Regions from separate parts of the Homo sapiens genome. Here all the other regions are linked to region 3. The links are contacts of gene promoters, found by promoter capture Hi-C in blood cells and fetal thymus (Javierre and others, 2016). All regions are on one chromosome and are shown on one strand. The core of a region is centred on a gene start or on the middle of the fragment in contact, and the rest is flanking DNA. Distances in the headings are between cores, read along the strand shown. Region 1 overlaps PEBP4 (phosphatidylethanolamine binding protein 4). Region 2 overlaps RHOBTB2 (Rho related BTB domain containing 2). Region 3 holds the start of PDLIM2 (PDZ and LIM domain 2). Region 4 overlaps PEBP4 (phosphatidylethanolamine binding protein 4). Region 5 has its middle 13 kb from the start of PEBP4. Region 6 overlaps POLR3D (RNA polymerase III subunit D).

The links. Contacts are between HindIII fragments. The CHiCAGO score rates a contact against its expected background, and 5 or more counts as called.
Region 1: a fragment that was not itself captured here is called in contact with the fragment with the promoter of PDLIM2 in region 3 in 4 of 17 cell types (M1 macrophages, M0 macrophages, erythroblasts and 1 more); the score reaches 6.7 in M1 macrophages.
Region 2: a contact is called between a fragment that was not itself captured here and the fragment with the promoter of PDLIM2 in region 3, in 2 of 17 cell types (naive B cells and total B cells). The highest score is 7.2, in naive B cells.
Region 4: a contact is called between a fragment that was not itself captured here and the fragment with the promoter of PDLIM2 in region 3, in 15 of 17 cell types (endothelial precursors, activated CD4 T cells, megakaryocytes and 12 more). The highest score is 21.8, in endothelial precursors.
Region 5: a contact is called between a fragment that was not itself captured here and the fragment with the promoter of PDLIM2 in region 3, in 1 of 17 cell types (M1 macrophages). The highest score is 6.3, in M1 macrophages.
Region 6: a contact is called between a fragment that was not itself captured here and the fragment with the promoter of PDLIM2 in region 3, in 2 of 17 cell types (endothelial precursors and erythroblasts). The highest score is 6.4, in endothelial precursors.

Annotation. Positions count from the first base shown.
Region 1 is chr8:22,893,724-22,897,600 of GRCh38, reverse strand. All of the region lies in intron 3 of PEBP4 (phosphatidylethanolamine binding protein 4), which reads left to right. It overlaps LOC124901907 (a long non-coding RNA gene), which reads left to right. Exons shown (of 2, transcript XR_007060854.1): 2 at 921-2,550. Among named protein-coding and RNA genes, the nearest start is that of PEBP4-AS1, 18 kb to the right of the region's middle. The HindIII fragment of the contact is 1,551 bases long and covers 1,785-3,335 here.
Region 2 is chr8:23,007,760-23,010,459 of GRCh38, reverse strand. It overlaps RHOBTB2 (Rho related BTB domain containing 2), which reads right to left. Exons shown (of 10, transcript NM_015178.3): 6 at 2,349-2,467. Among named protein-coding and RNA genes, the nearest start is that of RHOBTB2-AS1, 9.3 kb to the right of the region's middle. RefSeq lists an enhancer at 1,202-1,787. The HindIII fragment of the contact is 4,621 bases long and covers 1-2,700 here.
Region 3 is chr8:22,579,225-22,582,796 of GRCh38, reverse strand. It overlaps PDLIM2 (PDZ and LIM domain 2), which reads right to left and starts at 2,322. Exons shown (of 9, transcript NM_001368120.1): 1 at 2,100-2,322; 2 at 1,267-1,418. The coding sequence starts at 2,192. RefSeq lists silencers at 427-721, 2,286-2,375, 3,106-3,265, 3,276-3,365, 3,466-3,535 and an enhancer at 396-1,088. The HindIII fragment of the contact is 20,077 bases long and covers 1-3,572 here.
Region 4 is chr8:22,916,512-22,920,608 of GRCh38, reverse strand. PEBP4 (phosphatidylethanolamine binding protein 4) reads left to right here. Exons shown (of 7, transcript NM_144962.3): 3 at 299-425. Among named protein-coding and RNA genes, the nearest start is that of PEBP4, 9.4 kb to the left of the region's middle. RefSeq lists an enhancer at 135-1,063. The HindIII fragment of the contact is 1,575 bases long and covers 1,587-3,161 here.
Region 5 is chr8:22,939,082-22,942,815 of GRCh38, reverse strand. It overlaps a transcript of PEBP4 not described here. Among named protein-coding and RNA genes, the nearest start is that of PEBP4, 13 kb to the right of the region's middle. The HindIII fragment of the contact is 7,835 bases long and covers 1-3,734 here.
Region 6 is chr8:22,254,439-22,258,412 of GRCh38, reverse strand. It overlaps POLR3D (RNA polymerase III subunit D), which reads right to left. Exons shown (of 9, transcript NM_001722.3): 9 at 3,812-3,974. PIWIL2-DT (PIWIL2 divergent transcript) reads left to right here. Exons shown (of 2, transcript NR_134293.1): 2 at 3,507-3,837. Among named protein-coding and RNA genes, the nearest start is that of POLR3D, 11 kb to the right of the region's middle. The HindIII fragment of the contact is 501 bases long and covers 2,474-2,974 here.

The DNA.
Region 1 (3,877 bases), core at 1,311-3,810, 310 kb before region 3:
ACTCAACTATAAAATGGAACTAATAATACCCATCTCATAGGTTTGTTGTAAGGTTTGAATAAGAAAAGCAAAATACTCGGTGGTATTTTTACACATACTAAAACCAGAGAGCTAGGTCTTAAGAGTCAAATGGCAGAGATAAGCCTGAGTAAGACGATGAAAGGGTTTGTTTTTGGTGCCTCAGTACTCCACATAGTGTGTCCTTTCCCACAGCTCTCTTCTCCTTCGACAAGCAGTATCTTCATTCTCCTCTACCTCCCCTCCTCCATCCATATCTGTGCTTCTGAACGCATCACATCCCGTTGCAGTGTGGTGACTGATAGCAGCTTACAATGTGATCTGTCCCCAGGGACTTTGCATGATAGGAGTCTGAACAGTCTTAAATTTAAAGAAGATGGAAGAGGAGGAGAAGAAAAGGGGCTGTATTTTCTCAATTAGCAGAAAAAACAGATTTTACTCAATTTTGAATGTTTCTCCTATGCCTCAAAAAAATCTTTCCCACCTCTCAATGTCTACGCTAAGCCGTAGTATATTTGGATTATATATATATACATACACACACACACACACACATACACACAGATATATGTGTATATATATAACACGCAAATATATATAGATAGGTATAGATATATTATCCATTTTAGATTTAGCTATATATAATATCTAAATATGTTATATATAAAAATATCCAAATATACCATATATATTATATATATTAGAGATGAAGAGAGAGAGAAACTATCAAGTACATCAGTATACATAGAGAACTAGTGAGTTAAAGGGAAGAGACACTAACTGTGGATTTTAAGGCGTCATATAACAGGTCATGACATAGTTGAGGCACCTGACACCTTCAAAATTCTGCCTTATCATAAGTTGTCACCTTGCAACCTCTGTGTAATGCTGTTTCTACCAAGGGCTGAACGAGGCATGGGAGAGTCTGTGTCACTGCTGAGCCTTAGCTTGAACAGTAATAAAGAGGCCAAGGACTGCTGGGGTAAATGAGAAATGAAATAGGTAACGTGGTTCTCCAGATACCCAGAGCCAGAAAATGCTGAATCAGAAACACAAAATGTCAGGAAAGTGAGAGTAGGAGTGCGCCTGAGTGAGCCTCAAGAAACCCCTAGCAGGTGAGGTGGAAGGAACCCCATCACTGGGATGAGGAGGGGAGATCAGGGAAGACTCCCCTTAGCCTGAGGATGGCTCTGAGCAAACACGTTGGAGCCTGGATAATACCCCACTGAACACTGCAACTATCGGTTAAAGGAGCCATTGGAGTAAGAATTGATAGGTCAGCGGGAGCAAAACTCAACCATTCCTGATTAATTAGTATTACCGTGGCCTATGTATTTCTCTAGTTCAGATCTTCATCAGATCACACTCCAGCTATGACAGTGATTGTCCAAGCTCCATTCCCTGTCTCTCCTCCCAGACTAGGACATCTTCTTCTTCTGGGTTCCCACATCATTCTAGGTTCCAGTGGCACTTTTCTTACTTGATGCAAGGATGTGGGATTTGGGAACATGGTTTCATCTCTCCAACCACAATACCAGCAACTTTCAGGCAACTGTCTGATGCCACACAGCAAATCTGCCCCAGGGCAGAGGGGGCAGTAGGTAGGCAGTAACTGGGAGCACAGGCAGAGAGGCTGGCATGAAGAAACCTGCCCATGGGAAGCAGGGCCAATGCCACCTAGGCTGGGTTCAAGGATGTGGCCAAAAAAGCAGAACTTCCGACAAACTTGGAAAACTAGTCAGGTTACTGAAACAGGAACTTAAGCTTCTCAGCAAATTAGACGTAACATATAAACTGGAAAAATCAGTGAACTTGAAGATAGAGCAACAGAAATGATCTAAAGAAATATAAAGAGAGAAAAGAAGGCTGGGGGACAGAACAGAGCACCCAAGCATTGTGAGACAACATAAAATGGTCTAACATATGTATAGTTGGGATCTCATTAAGAAAAGAGAGCAGAGTAGAACTATTTGAAGAGATAATGACCAAGAACTTGTTAAAGAAAGGCAACATACCACAAGTCCAAGATACTCAGAGAACCTTAATCAGAATTTTTAAAAAAATCCACCTAGATGTGTCATGATCAAACTGCTAAAAACCAAAGATAAATTCTGAAGACAACCAAGGAAAACAGAATGCCGGTGTCCCCCTCACCAAAGCATGTCTAAATGCTTGTGAAGAAAGTATGTTCTCCTGGGACAGAGTGAAGGAGGGTATGTGGGGAACACATGTGTAAGCCCACCCCAACATTATTATGCCTCTCCAGGTATTAAGATTCCTTGCTTTATATCAAGGAACTTCTGTCACCTTAGCTTTATTTAGTATAGGATGCCATTCAGTTCAGGTTTCATTTCAGATAACCCACTGAGTGAACAGAACCATACCCAGATGATCCAGCCAGTACTTTGGATCCAGAATCCATATTGATCAATATGGCCCAATTGAAAATGATCTTCTTTCCTCCGTGATCAGCACCTTACTATACATTTCTCAGATTTCTGCCAATAAATATTAAAAAACAAATGGCACCTACTTTGGTGTGAAAGTCTACTGTTTCAGAATCAGACTTTGTGCTTGTCTCCCTTGGCCATGCTGAAATCTGATTCTAGAATAGGTCAGGAGCAGCCAGGGGTGGTAAGTGTCGACCTCAGGGAGAATCAGGATTCTCTTGCAAGACAGGACCTGGGGAAAAGGGGCAGCTTCTGCTGGAAAGGGAGGCTCAGCAGGGTCTAAGACTCAGTTATATGAATTCAGCATCCCCATTCACAGGGTTCCATCTTTCCCAGTCAACACCATCTCCCATAAGAGACCTGATGAGGCTGTGAACTTAACTTAGGTTGTAATTCTACAACCTGCTGGGTCAGACTTCACTTCTGATTTCAGTTTTGTTGGCCCTGAAACTACAAACCGTGGGAGATTCTTTCAGGATAGTCTTAACTGTTCCTTGCTCTTCTGATTGAGCCTTGAGCCAAGAATTTATTACTATTTTATTTTATTTTTAGAGACAGGGTCTCACTCTGTTGCCCAAGCTGGAGTGCAGTGGCATGATTACGGTTCACTGCAGCCTTGACCTCCTGGAATCAAGCAATCTTCCCACCTCAGCCTCCTGAGTAGCTGGGACTACAGGCACATGCCACTATGCTTGGAATTTTTTTTATTTATTTTTTATTTTTTGTAGAGACAGGGTCTTACCATGTTGCCTGGGCTGGTCTCGAACTCCTGGGCTGAAGCCATCCATCTGCCTTGGCTTCCCAAAGTGCTGGGATTATAGAGTGAGCCACTATGCATGGCTGTGCCAAGAATTTAAACCTCAAGCTTCTAACCATTTTTCTTTACTTTTCCCACTTCTGGCAGAAGAAGTCATCTTATTCCAACATCTTTATATTCATCATTCTGACATAATAATCTATCGTGCAATTCCGCCAAACTCTTATCTTCAATGGGTACTTTGTTCTAGGTAATCACACTTGATAATCAAGATTATTTTGCTACTATATGCCGCGGGCTGCCAGTGACACATTTGCTAATGGTAACCTGTGCTCTCATCTTCACTGGTTTTAAGCAATTTGATTGTGATGTGTTTGGTGTAGTTTTCTCATGTGTCTTGTGCTTGGCATTTCTTTGGTTGGGCTTCTGGGATCTGTGGGTTTACAGTTTTCATCAAATTAAGACATTTTTCAGCCATTATGTCTTCTAATATTTTTTCTAATATTCCCTAAAAGGGAATTTTAGGGACTCCTATTGCATGTATATTTGGCTACTTGAAGATGTCCCACAGCTCACTGATATGCTATTCTGGTGGGTTTTTTTCAGTCTTTTTTCTCTCTGTGTTTTATTTTGAATAGTTTCTATTGCTGTG
Region 2 (2,700 bases), core at 201-2,700, 430 kb before region 3:
GCTCTGGCCCTCACACCCAGGCTCCCCCAGACGGGCAGCCTTCCCTGTGCTGCATGTGTATCTGCTGAGAAGACCCTGAGAACACCTGACCCCTAGAGCGACAACCTGTGCTGAGCCCCAGTTTGCTGACAGCACCAGAGTACAGGCCTCTACTATCATTTATGTGTTTATTTTTAGAAACAGCGTCTTGTTATGCCATCCAGGATGGTCTTGAACTCCTGGTCTTAAGCATTCCTCCTGCCTCAGCCTCCTCAGTAGCTGGGACTATAGGCACAAGCCATGGCGTCCAGCTTCTAAACTCTTCCAAAGGGACCCAGATACTACTCACTGGCACCCTTTGGAAGCCGCTCTTGCTCGCGGGATGCTTGAAGGAGGCCTTCTGGTCACCTCAATCTACACCTCAGTCCCTCCCATCCCTGCACAGAACAGAAGTGGGATACAGAATAAGTAAGGCCCACAGCAGCTGATTTCTTTCTGTCTGCTCAGAGCTGCTGCTTTGGGCCTCCAGGATCTCTTGAGAGCAGCGCTGCAACACAAACTGCCTTCTCATCAGGCTCTCCAGGCTGTGCTGGGAACTGGCTAGAAGTTTAAAGCTGGCGTCTACAGTACCGAGAAGTGCCCGGGGCTGGCAGGCCCCTGGGGCTTGTGAGAGCTCCTAGTCTCACATTTTGTATATCCAAATCCTACTCCCACTTCAGAGACCAACTCCCAACGCTTCCACTTAGCCTTCCTTAAGTACTTCCTTCCCAGAAATCTTAGAAAATGCACATTCCACATCACGGGATGCGATGCAGCCCAGCCTCGTGCTTGGTTCTGTTTTTCATTCAAGCATTTGGTGAGCATTTCCCAAGAGACTGGCGCTGAGAGGGTTTTTGGCAGAAGGAAAAAGACCCAGTCCCTGCGCTCAGAAGCAGTTACAGAACAGTAGGGGAAACGGTGTGGACGTTCAGAACTCCACGCGCCTGCACAAAGTCGAACCTCGTTAACTACAAGGTTCGACGACACTCAGTGATGGGCAATTGAGGTCCAGGAGTTCAGAGCACACCAAGGGCTACTGCCCAGGCTACTCTGCTTGGAATGGAAAAGAGACCAAACCTAAGAGAATATTTCTAAGGACACATTGATAGGCTTCTTCCAACCCTAAGTTTCCAATCTAGGTGAGTGAGAAAGTGGTGGCATCGTGAGAGCTAGAGGGTCACTGATTAGAGAGGCAGGTGGTTCTATTAAGTATGCTTTTCCTTCCCTTCCTCCCTCCCTCCCTCCCTTCCTTCTTTTCTCTCTCTCTCTCTTTTTTTCTTTTTTTCTGTAGAGATGGTGTCTGTGTTTCCCAGGCAGGTCTCAAACTCCTGGGCTCAGGCAATCCTCCCACCTCAGCCCCTCAAAGTGCTGGGATTACAGGTGTAAGCCACCCCCTACACCTATTTTCTGTATTTTGTTGCTTTGACAACTAAAGCCTTGCTGGCCCTATAGGGACTGCCTCCCTCAGGGCTGGCCAAGTCCTAGGGATAGTGAAGGAGTTGCCTGCAAGTGTGCCTTTCATATGCAAACCAACCAATCCAGAGCCCACAGCCCACTACCTCCCCTATGGGCCCTCACACTCCAGGCCACTGTTCCCCTGCCCTAATCCCCCTAGAGCCAGGTGACAGACAACTAGAGACAGCATCCAGGCCCCAGAGCCGGCTAACATTATTCAAACAGCTAATCCTAAACCTGCTCAACCTGCCTCGCCCATTCCCTCCCACAGAAACCCTCTGCCTCCTGATTGACCCCAGAGCTTCCCCATGTGACCCCAGCCATGGTGCTGTGGCATGCCCCCTTTTCTTGGGATCTGTAACAAGTTGTCTTATCAATGACAGCCATCTTGCAATCTGTGGGCCTCTCTACACCTCAATAATAATAAAACCTATCTTTTAAAACAGTGATGCATTCAGTTGTTTCAAGTGTGTCAGGGAGGCAGTAAGGTACAAAGTAAAGAGCCAAGGAATGGAAGTCCTGAGTTCAAGTCCTAACTCTACTTCCAACTTCATACAAGTCACTTAACTTCTCAGGGGCTCCCTTTCCTAGATATACGGCAGGAGTGGCACATGTGTACGTTGCGTGTGAATTTAATGAGATAATGAACAGAAAGTGCTTTCTAAACTCTCAAGTTGAGGTGTCAGTGTAATTCCCTTTCCTGGTGTATTGTATAATCCTTAGCTCCAAGAACCACCTCATAAACCTCTCTTGGGCCCATCACCCTGTGGTTAGCACACAGTCAGTGAAGAAAGTACCCTGAGTGGCAGTGCCTCAGATGTAAAGGGTGCAAATGTCTCACTCCCTCCTTCCCCCCTTTGTGTCCTCAGCCTTACCTCCCGGGTGGAGCTCTCCACAAATGGCCCCCCAAACATGGCAGCCATCCAGTCACAGCTGGAAATCAACAGGGGCTTGTGGGCGCTGATGGTGCCATCATCCAGGATGAAGGTCACATCTGTCCAGAAGAAGCATCACAGGAGGACTGGTGAAAGAAGCTGGGAGAACAAGCCCCAAGGGGAGCCACGGAGCCTCCTCCTGAACCCAGAAGATTCGGGGCACGGAACAAACCCGCTCCCAGCTGGGGAAAACCAGGCTTCAAGAGCATGGCAGCCGCAGCTCCAGGACACCAGGAGCTGAGACAGACAGGCAATGCTAATAGCACCAATGCAGAACCCCCTTGCTTTCCAA
Region 3 (3,572 bases), core at 1,073-3,572:
CATCCTGGCCAACGTGGTGAAACCCCATCTCTACTAAAAATACAAAAATTAGCTGGGCGTGGTGGCACGCGCCTGTAGTCCCAGGTACTCAGGAGGCTGAGTCAGGAGACTCTCTTGAACCCGGGAGGCAGAGGTGGCAGTGAGCCGAGATCACGCTACTGCACTCCAGCCTGGCAACAGAGCGAGACTCTGTCTCAAAAAAAAAAAAAAAAAAAAAATTAAGAGACTGGAGTCTGGGCTTGCCTGGTGCAGAACCAGAGGCCTGACTTACAGCCCAGGCCTACCTCCCCCGAGCCCTGGTCCCTCCAGAGAACCCCAGAGGAAGAGACAGTCCGAGGCTCCTGCCCTTCCGCTGCCAGACCCTCAGCCTCCTGTAGCTTTCTGCCCCATTCCCAGATGCCATGAGGTGCTCTCTACCCTCCTTCTTGGGGTCCCGCTCCTGCAAACACCCAGGGACCTGAATGACATGAAGGGAGCCGGCTTCTGCCACACCACAGGGCAGGGCAGTTGGAGAAGGAGGGGCTTGGTAGGGCTGAAGAGAGCAGGACAATGTGGGGGTGGCCAGGATGCAAGAGGTGTCTGACTCAGGTTCTAGGCCCGTGCAGAGGGCTCTCCTGGCTCGGGGATCTCCTGGCATTCCCGATCTGTGACTCACTGCAATGCCCCACCCCAGGGAGCCACCTGTTCCCCCTATAGCTTGGCCTCCAGGCCCCACCCTGGCCCCACCTTGGCTTATAGGCTCAAAACCCTAGGAGTAACCCAGGATCGGGCATCTGCCTTCAGTGATGGGGAGGAACAGACAGCCTCTATGAGGAATGAGCCCCCCAAGTCCTCACTTCCAGCTGGGAACTAAACAAAGGCCATGCCCTGTTGGAAGCAGGAGTCCTGGGGATGCAGCCTCGGGCATACCTTTCCCAGAAGGTTCCCCTCTTCAACCCACTTCATGCCCACGCCCTGTGCCCTGCACACTCTTGGGAACCAGTCAAACCCGGGCTTCAAGGTGGCTGGTGCCAGCTCGCCCTGCCCAGCCTGTGACTGCACGCCCAGCCTGGCGCCCACCTTTACCCAACCAGGCATGGGAACACCCCTCAGCCCACCCTGCTGCAGGAAGCAGAGCCCAGGACCTTCTCACCAAGGTGTGGAGAGGGCCCAAGAAGGCCGCTTTAGGGCTGAGCTCTAGCCCATGGGCAGGAGCAAGGGCTGCTCAATACGTGGGGTGGTGGAGGAGGGGGAATGCCACAGGCTCTGCAGAGCGGGAGGCCCTACCGGTCCAGCTGCAGCCGCAGGGGCGAGGGGCTCTGGCGGATCTTGCTCTGGGCCTCGGCATGCAGCATGCCCTCCGCGCTTTCCCCGTTGATGGCCACGATTATGTCTCCAGGCCGGAGGTCAGCGTCCTTGGCTTTGCCCCGCTCGGCCACCTGTAGGGATGAGGAGCTGGCATGCTCAGACCGTGGCCCAGCTGGAGAAGGGACTTCCCACTCTGCTACCCAAGAAACACAGAGGCTGGCTTGACCCAGGCCGGCCTGCACCCTCCTGCATGTCCCTCTGCCTGCTCATGACACCCAGCTGATCAGCCATCCCCTCCAGGAGCGCAGGTGGCAGCCCCCACCCCACACTGGCATTCTAATGGGCCTCCCAAAGAATGTGCAGTGGCAGAATTTCAGGAACTGTGCTTGGAAATACTTTTGGATAGAGAGCCTTGCCCGTGCAAATCGCACCTTGCAGGTGGCTGCCTGCACAGCCCTCCTGTGAATGTTCCCAGCCTGGGCCCAGGTCAAGAGGAGACTGCCAAGAACTCCGGGGCTCTTGTTCTAGTAATCACCCCAAATGGCTGCCTGCAAGTGTGGGGATAGCAACTGGGGAGGCAAGAGCCGGCCCTGTCCTGGTCCCAGCTCCCTTTCACTCCCAAGGTCTGTTCCTGAAGTGGCCACCACATCCCCGTGGCAAAGGGCCACGGCTCCCTTACAGCCAGCACGCCAGGCAGCAGCAGATCCCTAGCTCCAGAACAGAAAAAGCAAGCCATCTGTGCAGAGTGGGGTGAACAGGGCCGACCTCGCTTCTGGCAGGACCTTCTCATCTCTTTGAGCCACCATCCTTACCTTAGTCACCATGATGGGCGTGTGGAAATCCCTGCCCCCTGTGATACGGAAGCCCCAGGGCGCTGGCCCGGCCACATCCACCGTCAACGCCATACCTGAGGAAGAGAGGACCAGGAGGTGAAGTCCATGCCCCTAGCCGGCTCTGGGGGCACTGTAAGGCAGCAGGAGAGGAGCCAAAGGGAGAAGGAGAGGGCACCACAGCTCCCGGAGCAGCTACTCAGGGGCTTTGGGGTGGGTAGAGGAAGTGGCTAACTCCCTCCCTCAGCCCGGTTTCACTTCCCCCCACCCTGGGAAGCCATGCTTCTGGGTTCTCCCTTCCTTAGTCTTCAGCCCAGGGAGCGACTCCCAGGAGGGGGCTGCCCAGGCTGCCAGGCAGGGGGCTTGCTGGAGCATGGGGGGCAGGGGCTGGCAAGTGGAGGGGATGCCAGCACCCCCTCAGTCTCCCCTCCTCCACCATCAGGGCTCAGTCCCACTAGCGCTTGCTTCCTGTCCCCAAAACCCACAGCACACGGTACTTCCTCTCCACTCTGGGGGAGGGCTGGTGAGTGGCCTAGGGAGAGCAGGGCTCAGGAAGCAGGAGTGACGGGTCAAGGAACAGGCTGGCACCAGTACAGACTGTGTAAGTCACTGGCCAGGTGAAGGACTGGTGGGGTGAGGCCGAGTCTTCACATGGGCCTCCTAGCTGCCCACCTCGTTCTTGGCAAAGTGGATCACACGGGCAAGACCGGGCTCCCCACCTCCCCCAGGGGCCGGCTGCCAGGGCAAGGAGGCCAGGGTTCATCTGTCAAGCTGGACACACCCACCCCCAGATTCCTGATGCTGCCCGACAGACAGCCGGGGTGACAGGCCTCCCATCCACAGCCCCTCCGCTGGGCAAGGAAGTGCCCTTGCAGACAGACCCCTGTGGGATTTCCTGAGCCTCTAGCTCTGGAGCCAGGAGCCAATCCAGGCAGGAAGCCGCGGTGCCAGGCTGGGCACCACCCTGCCCAGCACCCATCCTGGGGCTGCCCTGGGGACGCAAGTGCTGCGAGAATCTATCAAGAGCACCAGCGGTCTGTCCGCTCCATCCCCGGCTGCCTTCCCCTTGGGCCCAGGCCTAGCCTCTGTTCCCAGCACCGCCCCCACCCCAGTCCCCGAGGCCGGCTCGCGGCCGCCCCGAGATTCCCAGACCTTTGAGCCGGTCAGTGGACTCCGCGCTGCGGGCGCCGCGGGGAGGTGCCCAGCCCGATGGCCCGGCTCTACCAGTTCTGGAGCCTCCTTCGCTCCGAGGGCAAAGTACCCTGCGGGCTGGGGGCTGGAGGAGGAGCGCTCCGGCCGGGGAGAGCGCAGCTCGCGGGGGCGCCCCCGCTGATGCGAGGCTCCAGGGAGCTGGGCCGCGGACGAGGCCAGGGTTCCGCGCCGACAGGGGCGCGGAGAGGAGCCCGGCGCCGGGGAGGGCGGGCCGCGCGGAGAGGCGCAGGTGGGCGCGCTCAC
Region 4 (4,097 bases), core at 1,125-3,624, 340 kb before region 3:
TTAATATTATACTTTCTGATGACTTACAACGTGCCAGGTTCTGTTCTGACCATTGACCGCCACTTTTCTTCTCACACTGACTCCATGAGGGAGGAATTATTAGTGTCTTCGTTTTACAGGTGAGGAAACTGAGGCACAAGGAGGTCAAGTAACTCTTCGGTCACACAACTAGTTAGTGGCAGGTTTAGGATTTGATCCCATTTCACTTTACATTCCCAATAGTGCTAGACTGAAGCCTTGGGAACCCCAGGCTCCCTTAAAACCCTGACACAGGGCAACCTCCCCTCTCTCTTCATAGGGGCCTTGAAGTTTTCTACCCAGAGTTGGGGAACATTGGCTGCAAGGTTGTTCCTGATTGTAACAACTACAGACAGAAGATCACCTCCTGGATGGAGCCGATAGTCAAGTTCCCGGGGGCCGTGGACGTGAGTGAGCAGGGCTGTGTTAAAGCGGGGGGACAGTTGGGGGTCTTGATGTTCCTCCAGGCTTGCTCATCTGGGTGACTTGAAGCTGCGTGCAGAGCCATCTGGGTTGGGTCTGGTGGCTGCAGATGGCTGTTGCCATAAAGTTGTGCCTTCCTTAGAGTGGACTTGAGGAGAAGGCTGGGGGCTGGTGGGAGGGCTGCAGACTGGAAACTTTGGTGATGGTTGAGGCCATTCTGCCCAGGCCTTTTCCTGCTCCCCTGCTCTGGGAGCTCCTTGGCTGCCCCTGAGATCTGGGACCCCAAGCCTGGTGGAGACCAGCTGGTGTGTGCTTTGGAGTTGGCAGATAAGTGGAAGAAGGCGTGGTATGGGAGGAGTCCTCTCTCAAGGCGCGGGGTGCCTGGGCCTTCAGATGGCTTCTGGGCTGGAGAGAAGCTGGTATTTACCAAGACAGAGCTTCCCAAGTTGCCTAAACAGGCAGAGGTCAGTGCATCTTGACGCTTTGTTGTCACAACATGAGACACGCTCTTCTTTTGCCCAAAGTTGTGTAAAAGAAGAACAAAGCATTTTAGGAACTGGAAATAACTATTTTACTGGGCAGTGATTAGTGCTATTACATTTAGGGGTCTGGAAAGCCTGGGGAAGAGTCATAGAAGTGGGAAATGGGTCTGCTGCTGCCCTAAGCAGCCAGAGTGTGTTTTGGGGAAGCTGATCTGGCCTTCTGGTCTCCGCTTCTTTATTTCTTGACTCCTGGGCCAGACTGAGCCCGCAGAGTGTCAATGGTGGAGACTGGCCTCTTTTCTGCTGTGTTTTAGAAGGAGGTGCTGCTGTCAATCTAGGCAGGACTTGGGTCACAAATGCCTGGAGATGGAAGGGTCGTGGCCGGGATGTGACCAAGCACACACACCAAGGCTGACCTTCTGGTCCTTTCTGTGCAGGGTGGCAGGGAAGGGCCACAAGGGGTTCTTCCTTCCCCTCAGTGCTGCCTTGGTTAGGCCTCATGCAGTCAGCTAAGCCCAGTAGGACAACAAGCTCCAGAGGGCGGCAGCACACAAGTTACTCCAATGCGGGGAATAGACTCTTCTCTTTGAAGTGTTTTTCACTATCAGAGAGCAAATAGATTGTGATATGGCTCGCAAGTTATGAGGCTGTTGTCATGAAGCTTTGCTAGGTTGTCTTGTTTGCAAACACGACAAACACCCTTTCCTTTGGGAAGACGAGCAATAAAGTGCACACGTGCACATGTGTGCACATGTGCACACACACACTTGCATGCACACCCATGTGCACACAGCGTCAGCCCTCTTCCCTGGAAACCCTTGGACTGGGCACACCTGTGGACAGCCAAGAGGAGCAGAGAAAGGAAGCCTGCTGATTCTAACTCCTGGGATGGGAGGTGCAGAGGCCGGGCAGGAACCCAATCTTTTAGAGGAGTATATGCTACTCTGCGGGACAGGACTCTCGGCTTCACCATCCATTCACTTGTCTTGGGGTTTGTCCCTTATGTAGTGAGGGTCAGTCGGATGCTTTCACAGGCCAGGGACAGTCCCAAGGGAATTCTCCCCAAAGGGCTCCCTTCCGCGTGCTGATGATGCTGCAGACATCCACTAGATGGCAGTGTAGACTTTTCTGAGCACCTGGTGTCCTCCAGAGCAGGGATTTGAAGCCTGTTGGGAAAGTCTTTGGTTTGATTTGGTTTCGTTGCCCTGGCTTATCAGCACATTACACAAAGACGACATCACCCACGCCACATCCTGAAGTCTTGTACTGTTAAACCCATCCTGCCTCAGCCCGGGGGTGGGGTGGGGAGAAAACGGATGTGGAACATAGAGATTTATGAGGAACACAGAGCTGTGGTCAAGAAAGCCTGGGAGAGTGAAGATTTTACAAAGGAAGATTTGATCGAAGCTGTGGGAAGAAGAAAAACATAGTATTCTACTACTATGGAACTATAGTTTATGGAAATGTAACAGACCTATGAGAAGGCAGATTCAGAGAGATTTGCCAAAGTGGTCAGTGAGTGCCACCTTATTCCATTCCTGGGCACTACTCGGACCTTTCATTTAAGTCTCCAAGTTAAGTATTTCTTTCATCAAGACTATTAATGGCATGTGACAAAAAGTCAACTCAAATCGGCTTAAGCCAGAAAAGAGGGGGAAACATTGGTTCACAAAACTGAAAACTCCAGGGATAACTTCAGGCGAGGCTGGATCCAGGTGCTCAGTGTCACCAGGAATCTGTCTCTTGATTGTTTTTTTCTGTGCTGTTTTCATTTGTAAATAGAGTCTTCCCTTGTGACAAAGATGGCCCCAACAGCCTTAGGTTTGTGTTTGACCAATTTGTCAACCCCAGTGGAAATAGGGTTTTCCATCCATTAAAAGTCACAGGATTGGTCTCGCTTTGGTCTTGTGCCTATCCCTGAACCTAGCAGTGACCCTCTACAGCTCCCCTTAATCTACAAGGACTGAGAGTAGAGGAGGATGGTTGCCCTGAATGCAAGTCAAGGTGTGATTGATCAGATAAGGGTGAAAGGATGTTAGGTAGGAAATGCAAGGCAGGTCCTATGGAAGTGAGTAATCTGGCCAAGTACAGAGCTGAAAGGTGCCAGAGCCAGAGTCAAAGCCAGGTCTGCCCAACTCCAGAGCCCATGGGCCTGGCCAGTGGGCCACTGGCAAGGGCTCTAAGGGAGACACCAGGGGGCGCTGGCACAGGCAGGGGTGGGCTGGCCGAAGGGAAGCTTTCCCTGGTTAGAATGGAAGGGGGTGGGCAGGAAGGATAGTTCTTCCTAGGGAAGGTGGTAGTTGGAGCTTCCCTTAAGGGAGAGGGCATGACTGGTGAGGCTGGAGGAGCAAGTGCTACCTGGGTCCCTCAAGAAAAGGGTGCGGGGAGCCTGAGTGTTTAGGACAGAGAAGAGCATGAAGGTATTTCTTCTGGGCCTGATGGAGAAGGGCACGAGTTGGTGACTGCTATGTGGGGATGGTGCATTGCTTCCAAGGTGACTGAAGCAATGCCACCAAAGCAGTGACTGCCATTGGACATGCCTGGGAACACCCCCCCCTCCCCCGCCCCCAGCAAACTCCAAAGCCCTGGAAAGAGGGGTGCAGCAGTGCCTCTGTGCCCACCATAGAGCTTCCCACCTCCATATTCTGGCATTGGCCACTTCCCCATCCTTGGCGTCTTTGGACCCTGCTCCCGTCACAATGCTTCCTCCTCTAGGAAGCCTTCCCTGACTGCCTCCCTCTGGGCTCCACCTACATCCCTGGCTGATCTTTTCTTTCTCTGTGCTTTTAAAATGTTCCTACCCTCTAAACTGGGTTTTGACTTCCCTGTGTCTTGTGCTGTAGTTGCTCATTCCTGTCTCTCAAAGCTTCAAGCACTTTGTAAGTTAGGAGAGAAAGACTATGTGTTGTCTTTCTTTGAGTCACCCGTGGGCCCCACCAGCACCTCAGATGCCATGCTGGCTGACTGGGTGACTAGGTGAGAGAGTGAACAGGTGAATGCATGAATGCATGAATGCATGAATGAATGAATGAATGAATGACATGTGGGAGAGCATCTCCTGGAGTGTGAGCTATGAGCTGTGTCAGCCAAACTGTCGGCCCTTTCAGCATCTGTTGAAGGAAAGCTGCTAAACCTAGTGAACCCAGGGCAGCAGGACTCTCTCCTCCCCCTAGG
Region 5 (3,734 bases), core at 710-3,209, 360 kb before region 3:
CTGGTTTCAAACTCCTGACCTCAAGTGATCCGCCCACCATGGACTCCCAAAGTGTTAGGATTACAGGCATGAGCCACTACACCCGGCCCACAGTTGGTGATTTTGTTTTCTGTGTTTTTTTGTTTTGTTTTGTTTTCTTTAGACAGAGTCTCACTCTAGGCTGAAGTGCAGTGGCACAAACATGGCTCACTGTAGCCTCTACCTCCCAGGCTCAAGCATTCCTCCCTCCTCAGCCTCAAGGTGTGCACTACCACACATGGCTAATTTTTTTCTTTCTTTCTTTCTTTCTTTTTGTAGAGATGGTGGGGGTGGTGGGGGGTGGGGTGGTGGGGGTTCTCACTATGTTGCCCAGGCTGGTCTTGAACTCCTTGATTCAAGCAATCCTCCTGCCTCAGCCTCCCATTATGTTGGGATTACAGGTTTGAGCCACCACACCTGGCTGTTTGTTTGTTTGGATGCTCATCTCCCTTCTAAGCTGTGAGTTTATCAAGAGCGGGATCCTCACCTTGTTCATCTTTGCACCTTCAGCACCTGCCGCATGCCTGCTATTTATCTAGATTGAATACAAGGACTCCCCAGCCTGGCTGCATATGCGAGTCACCTGGGAAGCATTTGAAACCCTCCATGTCTAGGCTTCACCCTCCGAAATTCTGGTCTAATTCACCTGGGGTGGGGCCAGGCATTGGTGTTTTTCACGAATTCCTCAGGTGCTCTACTGTGCAAAACTACTGGGTAAGTGTTTGACTTCTCATTGATTTGTTGATTTTCCTGGGAGGAATTCTCTAGAAAGAAAGTAAGGAGATGGTTCCAGGTGTGGTCATTTAAAACACAGCAGGAAACCCAGGACCTGAAAACCACGTACTTGCCCTGGGCTTAGTTACCTGATTGGCAGAACCTTACCCAAGTGTGAGCCAGCCTGGAAGACCTGGGTCTGAGCCAGGTGGTGGTGGTCTCCATTATTCTGCAGGCTCCAGGCCACACTTGTTGGGGAAGGGGATGATTCTAAATCCCCGTGATGGCCAGGTGCGGTGGGTGGCTCACACCTATAATCACAGCACTTTGGGAGGCCAGGGCCAGTGGATCACCTGAGGTCAGGGGTTTGAGACCAGACTGGCCAATGTGGTGAAACCCCGCCTCTACTAAAACTACAAAAAAAATTAGCTGGGCATGGTGGTGGGTGCCTGTAATACCAGCTTCTCAGGAGGCTGAGGCATGAGAATCGCTTGAACCCGGGAGGCACAGCTTGCAGTGAGCCCAGATCGAGCCATTGCACTCCAGCCTGGACAACAGGAGTGAAACTCCGCCTTAATCAGTCAATCAATGCCCGCAGACTGGGAGCTCTGAAGATAGTTGTCAATCCCGATCTCTCCTGTCTGTGGCTGAGGGCCTGTTGCTCTCCGTGGTCAAACGTTGGACATCTTTCCACGGACGCTGGTCTCAGTGGTTCCTCCCTCCAACCTTCTGCACCTGTCTCTGCGGCCTTCTTTTCCTGCACTCTAGTGTCCCTTCTGCCTGACTCTCTGTGCATCTTGAAAGGAGAAACGGTAAGAGAATTGTCTCCGCAGTTTCCACTCTTTTCCTTAGAATCCTTGGAAGGAGGAATGCTGGCAAACCCACCCATTCTTTTTTTTCCTATTCTCTCCTGCCCTACATATCGGCTCCTCCCTGGAACTCCCCTGGAACTTTCTCCAACTGTCTCCCCAACCACCAACAGCTCCCTCCTGTCCTGTGGCTCTAGGAACCTTACTGAACCTCTCAAACTCTCAACATCCGCTGGCTCTGATTACCTTAAGGGCCCAAACTGAGGGGCACCCTGGAGGGAACTTTCTCCCCTCGTTCTCCAGGCCAGAAACCTGTCAAGGTGTGTACCTTCCCACAGCCAGCACCCAACAGCTCCCACACTGTTCTGGACAAGTGACAAGGGCTCTTCTTCCCTGTTTGTGTGCGGTAGGAATTTGCTACGAGAGAGGAGACAGAGGAGAGAAAAAACACCTTGGCCTAGGGAGCTATTAGAAATTCGTGGTAAAGGCTGGCCGTGGTGGCTCACGCCTATAATCCCAGCACTTTGGGAGGCCAAGGCAGGCAGATCACGAGGTCAGGAGATCAAGACCATCCTGGCTAACATGGTGAAACCCCGTCTCTACTGAAAATACAAAAAAATTAACCAGGCGTGGTGGTGGTCACCTGTAGTCCCAGCTGCTCGGGAGGCTGATGCAGGAGAATGGCATGAACCCGGGAGGTGGAGCTTGCTGTGAGCCATGATTGTGCTGCTGCACTCCAGCCTGGGTGACAGAGCAAGACTCCGTCTCGAAAAAAAAAAAAAAAGAGAAATTCATGGTAAAGGTGGTGTTTCCAATTTTTTCACTCTAGCGTGATTTGAGCACATCATTTGAGGCATTATTTGTGACTTTCTTCATGGCGTTTCTAGGTGCCTATCTATGAGCCTCAAACATTTCTCTAATTCTCCTCAGAAAGGCCACTTTGGTGAATTTCTCACTGCCTGAATTTTGGGCTGCGATGAGCCTCACTGATTTCAGGCAGGCCTTACTTCTGACAGATGTAGTGAGTTTCTTTCCTTTGTGAGGTCCTCATTCTCCCTTCCATGATATAGGAAGAAGGATCCCCATTTCCTCCCATCCTGAGAAATATAGGGGGAACCAGAGATTGACTCTGTCCCTGCAAAGAGGGGCAAGGTAAATACATAGCTTCACTAGGCTTTAAGTTCAATTCTCACCTCCACCAGATGGACAAAACATTCAACCTTTCAAGGGTGACATGACGGCAGGTGATTGCCTGAGGCACCACCATTTCATAGCCCCTCTGGAGCCTGCCATTCCATGGGTGAAGTGATTCATTAATAGATGCAATGTGCATCTGTTAATGAAATGGGCTTATTAAGTCAACTGTTGATTGCTGAGACCAACAAGCTGGGGCTACCTAAAAGAAGAATTTGTGTCCCTGGAGTGGGAAGGTCCTGGCCCCCAGCCTCTGGCCCGAGGTCTAGCAGGACCTTTGGATAAATGGAGGGGTGAGGGAAGGGGTCAGAGCTGGGTTTATCTCACAGACACTCTCCTGACTCCTGGGTAATAAAATTGTTGGGAAAATCCAGCCCTGGAGCTCTCTTTGCCAGCCCCATCATTGCCACCATGAATTCCTCTGCCTTCTGCTTGGTAGAAGGAAAGCGAACATCTCTTAAAACAACAGCAAGTGCAGATACCCTGTAACAGAGCATTCCTCATTCCTTCCTCCCATTTCTTAGACATTGCTAGCATTCATGAACTTAACAATAAGCCATAATCACTTGAGACATTCTTGTTCTTAACTATTTTAAACAAACAGTTATCTATAAGGCCAATTAAGAATAATAAAGGTAAAATATTTTCCTTTACTTCCATTTAGTCCATCTTCATTGTTCTTCCTTTATGTAGAGCCAAGATTTCATTTTCCTTTTCATTGAAGGGCTTCTTTTAACATTTCATGCAAGGCAGGTGTAAGGGCAAAATCTTCTCTCAGTTTTTCTTTGTCTTCATATCCTCTCCACCTTTGAAGAAAAATTCCCCTGGATACAGATTCTAGGTTGATGGAAGTTTTAACACTTTTTAAAATATTTCACTCCATTCTCTTGTTGCTTGCCTGGTTTCTGATGGGAAGTTTGATGTAATTCTTATTGTTCATTTAGAAGTAAGCCCCACTCCCTGAGAAAAAAACAAAAGAAATTATATTTTTATACTTTT
Region 6 (3,974 bases), core at 1,475-3,974, 320 kb after region 3:
CTGACCTCAGGTGATCCGCCCACCTTGGCCTCCCAAAGTGCTGGGATTACAGGCAGGAACCACGCTGCCTGGCCCAACATTTGCACACATGCACACACACATGTACGTGTGTGTGTGTGTGTGTGTGTGTGTGTATATATATATATATATTTTTTTTGAGACACAGTTTCACGCTGTCCCCCAGGCTGGAGTGTAGTGGCGTGATCTCAGCTCACTGCAACCTCCGCCTCCTGGCTTCAAGCAATTCTCTGGTTCAGGCAATTCTTGGGCCTCAGTTACCTGAGTAGCTGGGATTACAGGCGCGTGCCACCATGGGCCCAGCTAATTTTTTATTTTTTGTAGTGATAGGGTTTCACCATTTTGGCCAGGCTGGTCTCAAACTCCTGGCCTCAAGTGATCCACCCACCTTGGCCTCCCAAGTGCTGGGATTACAGGCAGGAACCATGGCGCCTGGCCCAACATTTGTATAGTTTTAAAAACAGAACGTTAACTACACATTTAACTACAAATGCACTGCTGATGCACATGTGAATAGATGCAAACATTCTGGAGGGAAAAATCTATCAAAATCCTTAAAAATCTCATAGGATTGGACTTAACAAACTCCTGGGCTCAACTGATCCTCGCACGTCAGCCTTCAGAGTAGCTGGCGCTATATAACCTCATATCACCACGCCCAGTTAATTAAAAAAAATTTTTTTTTTCTAGAGACCAGGTCTTGCTACATTGCCCAGTCTGGTCAGGAAAACCATTTTAAATAGAGACTCCTAAGGAAATAATTGAGGACACTGGCAATTTAATGGATTTTATTTATTTATTTATTTTTTGAGACAAGTTCTCACTGTCACCCAGGCTAGAGTGCAGTGGTGCGATCTCGTCTCAGCTCACTGCAACCTCCCACTTCTGGGCTCATGCAATCCTCCCACTTCAGCCCCCCAAGTAGCTGGGAGTACAGGAGCAAGCCACCATGCCTGGCTAAGTTTTATATTTTTGGTAGAGATGGGGTTTCACCATGTTGCCCAGGCTGGTCTCAAACTCCTGAGCTCAAGTGATCCACCAGCCTTGGCCTCCCAAACTGCTAGGATTATAGACATGAGCCACCACCCCAGGCTGCATCATTTTTTAAACGATGAAAAACTAGAAAAAATCTAAATATCCCAGAAATGGGAGATCAGTTGGGTGAATTTTCATAGTACGAAGACGGATTCTAATATAACCATTAAACTTTAGTTGTACAATTTAAGAGACGTTCCTAAAGGAATTCTTGTGATCATCTTGCCCTGGGGAAAGGTCTGAGAGCCACACTGAACATGGCTAGTTTAAGTACTGGTCGTGCTTTCATTGGGAATATACTGTTTTGAGGGAATGAATCGGAGAGAACTGTGTTGGCAGCACGGCACAGTCTCAGGAAGCTTCACTCAAACTGTGAACCCTTATGCTAACTCCCGTGAATATGGCTGGTGGCGCCCACCACCCACGCCACTCCCATTTTATAAGGTGGAACCTGAACTGCAGGGCCAGAAAGCAAAATACCCACATTTCCCTAAATCTCTTGTGCTAGCATTCTGGGCATGCATGAGGTTTTACCAGTTGAGGTTTGGAAGGTGGAGGTAAACTTGAGGCCACCTTCTTCACTTTGGCCGTCTTCCGCTGCCAGAGCTGTGGATGAGCTTGACTCTCCTCCCTCTCACACCTGACATGGAATCTATCAGCAGATCACGTGTGTGCTACCCTTGAAATCAGTATCTAGAATCCAATCACTTCCCAGTGCCCCTGCTGTTAGCGGCCTGGCCAAGCCACTGCCATCCACTGTCCAGGGACTCCATCAGCCCTGCTTCCCGCCTCATCTCCACACCAGCTGGCTCACCAGGTCACTTTAAGAATAAAGCCGGGCTGGGTGTGGTGGCTCACGCCTGTAATTCGAACACTTTGGGAGGCCGAGGCGGGTGGATCACCTGAGGTTAGGCATTTGAGACCAGCCTGGCCAACCTGGTGAAACCCTGTCTCTACTAAAAATACAAAAATTAGCTGGGCTTGGTAGCGGGTGCCTGTAATCCCAGCTACTCAGGAGGCTGAGGCACGAGAATCACTTGAACCTGGGAGGTGGGGGTTGCAGTGAGCCAAGATCACGCCACTGCACTCCAGCCTGGGCAACATAGCGAGACTCCGTCTAAAAAAAAAAAAAAAAAAAAAAAAAAGAATAAAGCCAAGGTCCCTACCATGGCCTAAAAGCCCTCCAGGGCCAGGTCCCACCCCTCTCACTCCCTCAGCTCCAGCCAGTCTCTGTCTTACTCTTCACTCAGCCCAGAGCACTCTCCCCACCTGCATCTGATCCCGCTGGTTCACTTCCTCAAACGATACCCTCTCAAGGAGACCTACCCTACTTGCTGCAACATGCCCGCCACCACCCAGAATCCCCTGCTCCCTGCAAGTTCCCAAACTCTTGTCACCTTTTAACGTCCTTCCTTAAGCTTATCCTGTCTCCCTCACTAGAGTGCAGGCTCCTCCAGCAGGACACAGCCCCTAACCACTGCTTTCCTAACTCCTGCAGGGTGCCTAGCACACAGCAGGCACTTTCTTCAGGTGTGCCAGGGTCCAGCTACAGCTGTATGGTTCCCCAGAGGCAGCTGGGGCTGTGGGATTCCCTCACCCCTGGCTGGCAGCTGTGGCAGTGTGTTGTGTTCCGGAACTCAGTCGAGCTTGAGTCTCCACCCTCCTGATTGTGGCAGAGGGTGTAGCTCCCTCACCATCTGTTCTAGGGGGTGCTGATTCCTGGATGCTTAACCTATGGCTCACTCCTCCAGCCTTCCAACGAGTCTATAAACTTCTCTTCTTGTATTAACTCTTTCTGAATACCTAGAATGGTTTCTACTTGTCCAGTGAAACCTCATGCACGCCCTGGAAAACACACAAGATAAAGTCTCCAGGCCAACAGTGATCAAGACTGCATTTTTCTTTTTCTTTCATGTAAGCTTTCTATTTTTTTTTTTTTTTTTCTGAGATGGAGTTTCACTCTTGTTGCCCAGGCTGGAGTGCAATGGCGTGATCTTGGCTCACCGCAACCTCCGCCTCCCAGGTTCAAGCAATTCTCCTGCCTCAGCCTCCCAAGTAGCTGGGATTACAGGCATGCACCACCACGCCCAGCTAATTTTGTATTTTTACTAGAGACGGGGTTTCTCCATGTTGAGGCTGGTCTCGAACTCCTGACCTCAGGTGATCCGCCCACCTTGGCCTCCCAAAGTGCTGGGATTACAGGTGTGAGCCACTGCGCCTGGCCCATGTAAGCTTTCTTAAGATGTAAAGACTGCATTTTTTTTCTGACTATATCTTAAATGTAGATGAGCCAAGTAACAAAGTCCAACTTCTGACTCAGTTTTTGGGAAGACAGATCAGTGGTTACCCCAATGGAAGGGAACAGAAGAAATGCTTTAGAAGAGCTGAGGCAGAAAGTGGCCATGCAGAGGGCTCCTAGAACTGGTGTCCCATCACCATCTCTGTTTTTTCAGATGACACCCCTAAGACCTGAGCCCCTTCTGGGCCCCACACTCCACCTGTAGAACTCTGATGGGGCCTTGTGCGGCCGAACCACAATCCAAGAGAGGTGTTCACATCATGTGTCGCTAGCCACAGCCATCTCAAGGGGAAATGCCCCAAATGTAGAAGTATCTGACACCAGGACTGGGGGTTGGAGCACTGGATGAACAGCGTGTGTGCCACTCTTTCACTGTGCACCGTCCTAAGAAAGAAGCCTGTTTCCCTTTGAAGAGCCTAGTGCTGACTGCCCAATTCAATCGGACCACGCAGGGCAGTCTGAGGATTAAAAGATGCTACCTTTAATTCCTTCGGCTAATTCAGAAGTATGTGAAACACAACATACTCATTAACATGGAAGAACTGGATGTGTGTGCATGTGGGTGTGTATTATTTATTTTTCAGAGACAAGGTTTCACCATGTTGCCCAGGCTGGTCTTGAA